2 separate regions of the Homo sapiens genome follow, and region 2 is linked to region 1. Evidence: promoter capture Hi-C in 16 types of primary human blood cells and fetal thymus (Javierre and others, 2016). All regions are on one chromosome and are shown on one strand. The core of a region is centred on a gene start or on the middle of the fragment in contact, and the rest is flanking DNA. Distances in the headings are between cores, read along the strand shown.

What was found. The method cuts DNA at HindIII sites, captures the fragments that hold promoters and counts their contacts. A CHiCAGO score of 5 or more calls a contact.
Region 2: a fragment that was not itself captured here is called in contact with the fragment with the promoter of SYBU in region 1 in 2 of 17 cell types (total B cells and naive B cells); the score reaches 7.2 in total B cells.

Annotation. Positions count from the first base shown.
Region 1 is chr8:109,643,395-109,646,461 of GRCh38, forward strand. It overlaps SYBU (syntabulin), which reads right to left and starts at 1,428. Exons shown (of 7, transcript NM_001099754.2): 1 at 1,242-1,428. The coding sequence starts at 1,265. It overlaps SYBU-AS1 (SYBU antisense RNA 1), which reads left to right and starts at 735. Exons shown (of 2, transcript NR_161375.1): 1 at 735-828; 2 at 1,724-3,067. RefSeq lists a silencer at 1,193-1,682 and enhancers at 1,195-2,131, 1,793-2,112. The HindIII fragment of the contact is 4,274 bases long and covers 1-3,067 here.
Region 2 is chr8:109,531,255-109,534,321 of GRCh38, forward strand. It overlaps PKHD1L1 (PKHD1 like 1), which reads left to right. Exons shown (of 78, transcript NM_177531.6): 78 at 1-3,067. Among named protein-coding and RNA genes, the nearest start is that of EBAG9UORF, 6.9 kb to the right of the region's middle. The HindIII fragment of the contact is 8,383 bases long and covers 1-3,067 here.

The DNA.
Region 1 (3,067 bases), core at 178-2,677:
GAACCCTATACCTGGAACAGTTATTTCCTGATAGCTCACACACAATTATCTTTAAAATCCCTCCTCTTCTGGACAGGATCTTAATTATTCGTTAATATCCTGGTACACAAGGCTTGTTGCCAACAGAAAAGCAAACACAAATCCGATACTCGGGAAGATGGCTCCACCTTTTACATCATCTTTAATTTTTGTTTTCCTTACAGGACATCCATAAGAAGAGATTTTTCTTTCTCCTTAAAAACGCAGCATGAAGTACCCTGCCATTTCGTGGTTTTAAAAATGCGTAACAGTAATATTTTCACAATGTTTTCCAACTTATAAAGTGCTTTTCCAACCATTTTCTCATTTGATCTTTACACACCAGACTGTACATAGAGAGCACACCAATGAATGTCCCTATTTTCAGATGAGGAAACAGGCTAAATGGGGTAGAGATGCTTAGGCAATTCTGCACACCATGCCAGAAGTAGAACGAAATTCAAATCCAGTGCTTTGCAGGGTCACCACCACCCTGCCTTATGAAAATGGATTCCTAGGAGGAGCGTTTTGCAAAAATTCCACTGCTTCCTCCAACCTCTGCCACTGAAAGGGACTCTTTGGCTTAGGTAACAAACACCCTTTCGAAACATGACCTACTGTTCCTTCCACCGGCTTACCAGGAAGGGTCACGGCCAAAATAAACACCTCTGGGAGGCCGGCACATGGCATAAATTGAAGGGTAAACCTCAGCAATGGGGAACTTCGGAGGGCCCTCAGGCATCCACTCTACCCGGGGGCCGCCAGCCGCACGCAGCCTCGGATTCGCCCTGCACATCTGCCGCCCAGCAGGTACCATGCGCCAGCCACTCCGCCGGGCACACCGCAGACCCTGAGCTAAGGCAGGGTCACTGACACGCGGGAGTCCTCTTTTCCCAGTCGCGGATGCATCAAATTCCTTTCATTCACATCACACACACAGGATATCAACTGAAAGCTACACCCCACAGTCCCAGTTTCAGGAGGTGGGATTAACCCTCCAATCATGTCATTCTCCAAAATCTATTCCTCCAGTACCACCTCCCCATCTCCTGGATCTCAACTCCTAAGCAATGCCTCCTGCCTTCTCCAGACCCCACCACCACCTCCTTCCACCTTTCCCCAGACTCTAAATGTCACCCCTCCAGCTCTCATCCCGCCGCTTCTCGCCCCGCAGTGCCCGCCTTCCCCGCCCTCCAGTGCCCGCACTGCCCCGCGCTCCTTACCTTGCTCTCGCGGAGGGGCCCCATCGCGCCGCTGCCCGCCGGCTCCTCGCGCCGCCGCTGCCGCCGTCCAGGAGGAGGCACCTGCGAGCACGGAGCGAGGAGACTGCGCTGAGCCGGCGCGGGCTGCGGGCGGCGGCTCTTGGTGAGGCTCCAACGCGCCGCCGCCGCCACTGCCGCCGATTGCTCTGGGCTCCGAGGGCACGCCCGACCCCGCCCCGGCCGGACACGTGGTGCCGCACTCGCTAGAGGCAGCTCCTGGGGCGCCTCCCACGCCCTCCCTCACCTGCGGCCTTCGGGGCAACTCGACCGCGCCTGGGCGCGCCCCACCCGCCCGATTTCCCCACGGCACTCCGCGCCCCCCCAGCCAGAGCCGGTGTCCCTCCCTCTCCAAGGAGCTCGGCCCGGTGTAGGCAGGCTGCGGCTAGCGGCATCTCCAGCCCAGGGGTGACCCCACCCTCTTTTTTTTTTGCACTTGATCTCAGGTTTGAAGTGGGTGGCGTTGGATGGAGTGACTGAGAAAAGCTGCGACATCACAGAGAGACAAAATAGAGAAAGTTTTCCCCTGGCCACCCCTCCTTGGCCTCCAGGTCTTAAGTCAGCCTACAGCTCCCCACAACTGCCTCGCCCGAGAGCTGCAGAGATCCCTCTCGTACCGGAGCCCAGCCAAGCCAGTGCGTCAGGACCGACACAGCCTCTGGGTTCCGGGATCTGAAAGGCTGCGATGGATTCTACTTGGAAGGGGTTGCATCAGAAAGGCCTTCAGTGGTCAGCGCAGCTCCCTCCGGCTTGGAGAAGCCAGGCTGCTATGTAGCCAGAGAACAGTCTTTTCCCCAGCGCTGCCCTGCAGCTGCCCGGCTCCAGGAAGTAGCTCCAGCACACTGCTAAGGGAAGAGCACTGGAATTGAACTCAGAAAAACGAGTTCAAGCCAGCACTCCAATCGGTCCCTTCAGCCTGAGTGCCTTTATGCCTAAAGTTTTTGTTGTTGTTTCGTTTTTTGTTTTTTTTTTTTTCCGTTGCTGTTGAAACGGCATCTCGTTCTGTGGCCCAGGCTGTAGTACAGTGGCGCGATCAGGGCTCACTGCAACCTCTAACTCCTGGGATCAAGGGATCATCCCGTCCAGGCCTCTCAAAGTGCTCGAATTACATGCGGATGCCATTGCATGCGTGGCCTACGCCTACGGTTCTTGACCCTTCTGAACTTCAAATTTACCCTTGTTAAATTGAGGGATAATAATAGTGATACCTACCTCTAGGATAGCTGTGAGGGTTAGGTGAGGAAAACAAACAGCTCTATCCAGCTGATTGAACAGAACTTTCCAAAGGGCAGCTAAGTCAGGTCCAGATGATCCAGTCAATATTTGTTGATGCCTTTTACATGACAGGCAGAAAAAGCATTTGTGATGCACACAAATTTGTTTAAGAAAGCTCGAAAATCTGTCCAACTGGGGACTTAGAATAGGGTACATCAGCTGGGCCAAGGGCCTTGATTTATTACAATTGCTACCCTTAAATCTTATCTGGTGGTGGAATTCACCATGTATAATGACTTATATACCCTTTATTCAGAATTGGAGAATATTCCAAGCAGTGCGACACTCTGATCCTTATGCACCAGTGTCCTACATAGGAGGACTGTGCTCCTCGAAAACTGAGGGTCATTGTCCCCTTTCATCCATCCTCCAAACAGCATTTCTGAGTCCTCAACTCTCAAGCCTAAGAATATATGTTGTGAGTCTAGAGAGAGCCTGAAGCCAGAGGATTAGTGGAATCAATTTCCCTTCTTCCTATAACTCCAAAAGAGAGCTTCCTCCATAAATCTTCATGC
Region 2 (3,067 bases), core at 416-2,915, 110 kb before region 1:
AATCAAATATCTTGGTATAAATGTGGCATTTCATTCACTTGAGCAGTATCTGTTGGGTGTTCTAGTAAGTAGGAAGGCTACAAGAAATAAGATGCTATGCCTTCCCTCGAAGAGTTTTCAGGATATTTGGGGAAAGAATGGAAACAGACCATTTCAATACAACATGATCACTGTCTCAGGGAGAGAGAGACAGAGAAAGACAGAGAGATAGAGACAGAGACAGAGAGGGAGGGGGAGAGAGAGATAGATAGAGAGAGAGAGAAAGCATGAGGTTGCTAGCAATATGGAGGCCTTAAGCCTTGTTCAGGAGGGCTACCTAGAAGAGCAGTGGAAGAAAACTGGGAGAGGACCACTGAAGGCCTAGGGGCTACAGAAAAAATTCAAATGAACAGCTGGAATGGAAATAGTCACAATTTTAAGGGAATTGCAGGTAAGAGGTCCCTGACAAGGTAGTCTTCAAAGTATACATGAAAGCCCCTTCATGAGGAACATTTGCCATGTCCAGAGAGCATTGATACTTCATTGTACAGCACCAGGTAACAGAGCACTTTTATACTCCCCTCAGTTCCAACCCTGGTGGGGTGAAAAACCTCTGTTCCTGGGATAGGGAGGGGGAAAGAGACCCAACATGGGCCATTTCACGCTGAGACTTAAAAATCAGTCTTCCTAAGGCAAATCTAGTTTACTGTTCATTCCGTGATACTTCCTTTCTGTTGGAAAACTAAATTCCAAAAACTGCAATTCCAGCATCTATGGAACAAATTCCTACATTTGGGTTCTGGAAGAGATACAAAAATATTCTTCACACCAGAACATTGTAAAAGCCATAAAATTGTCCACCATCTGTATTCTTTTCTTACCTAAAGGTTTAATTCAGCCCACTGGAGTTTTTTGTCAAGATTTTTTCTGTCAGTTTTTAATAAGGAAATTTTCTAATACAAGTTATATGGCAGTAAAAGGAATTTCTAAAAATTGCTTCTTAGCCACACAGACTTTGTTAAAAAGTTCCTGTTTTAACTGCTTTAGGCTTCTGGCTGTCTGCTTTTTAAGAACATTCTAGAATTATCATAATAATTCCTTATTCCAGATAAATTACAATTTAATTACTACTTTTAAAAATGCTTGAATTATTGGAATCCATGGGCAATACATCTTCACATGTCCCTTATTCATATGCTAAGCAAGTTTTATTTTTGCTTTTTTTTTGCATTTAAATAATATTTCTCTGAACATTCTGTCTCAGAAATTGATGTTTAAATTCTTAAAAATAATTTGTATTGTAAGAAGTGGCTATCTAGCTCTTGAACAAGTCATAAAAATCCTTTGATGTGTGAATATTCTTCTACCTAAGACCTGAAATGTTGGCGAAGTAAATATGTTGTTCCAATTTTGGTCAAAGTAAGAAACAGAGAATAAAAAGTTAATAAGAATAGCTTCTTGTATTTCTCATAGTAAGTGAAATGTTTATATCTTGTACTACTGTCTCTACTCATTCCTAAATTCCATCACCTTGTGATCATTGCAATGACTTCTAGATGGTCCATCTGTTTTTACCTTTTATCCATTTTATCCCCAAAAGTGCTATTTAAAATATCCCTAGCACTAATAATAACAATAATCAATAATAAAGTAAAGGTTTATCACATGTTCACTACATGCCAGACACTATGCTGTGTGTTCTACATGGACCCTTTCCTTACAGCAATCCTATGAGGATAACCTTATTCCCTTCTCCAAATGAGGAAACTTGAAATGTTGAAGGGTTAGGTTAAATTCCCAAGTTCACAGAGCTACTAATGGTAAAGCTGGGATTCAAACACAGACAATTTAACTCCAGAGCCCAAATTCCAACATTTAATTGCTTCCCACTTTTCCTCAAGCATGGGCAAGTGCTTCATTGGGAAGAGTTTTTAATCCAAATTCCTGTTCAAATTCTTGGTTTCTACTTTACCACTTCTATGCCCTCAGGCAAGTTCTTAGTTTCCATTATTCTCAGTTTCTTCAACTGTAAAATGTGGAAAGTGTGACATCTGAAGACTGATGGTATCATATATATGACATGTAACACAGTGCCTAACAGGCGGTAAAATGATAGCCACTCTTGTTTTTATTTCCATAATGTGGCCTATATCATGTCAATCCCTGGCCCAGTAAACCATTAGGCTTCTTATTACACTGGAACAGTGCCTGGCATGTAATAAGCACCATGTGAGTGCTAATTATTAGAATTATTGGCTGGGCACTGGGCCACCTAGAACAAAGACAATTTCCCAGCTTCACTTGCAGTGAGACTGATCAATTTCTGTGCAGTGGGTTACAAAAACAGACATTATCTCGTGGCATATTCTAGAAACTGACCTTAAAACATAGCTATTATGCATCCCTTTGCCTTTTCTTCATCCCTTTCTGTTTTTCCAGCTACATGGAGCAAGATGGCTCCTGAGACCTGGAGGATAAAGGCCAGTGCCTTTTATTGCTCCATAACTTGTGTTAGAAAATCTCCTTACTAAAAATCTACAGAAAAATCTTGACAAAAAAAAAATTCCAGTGGATTGAATTAAAACTTTAGGTAAGAAAAGACTAAGATGGTGGACAATTTTATGGCTTTTACAATGTCCTTGTGTGAAGAATATTTTTATACCTCTTCCAGAACCCAGAGAGCTCAGCTGAAAGGAGTTTGGGTTCCTGACATTGTGGTGCCCTATACCAGCCCTTGCTCCTTTAGGGTTTCATTGTTATTTGGTGGTTATCCTAAATCTCCTGCTTTCATCAGATGTCTGAGATGGCAAAATTTGGAAGGATCAAGAGAACAGAGAGTTAATCCTTCCTAATGGGAAAGGTGGACAATGCCAAGGTTAAAATACCACATGCATCTTTGAGTTACTACTATACCCTCCCGAATGGAAATGCTTCAACTTTAATCTGAGGCTAGGCGCAGTGGCTCACGCCTGTAATCCCAGCACTCTGGGAGGCCAAGGCAGGCGGATCACGAGGTCAGGAGATCGAGACTATCCTGGCTAACACAGTGAAATCCTGTCTCTACTAAAAATACAAAAAAATTAGCCAG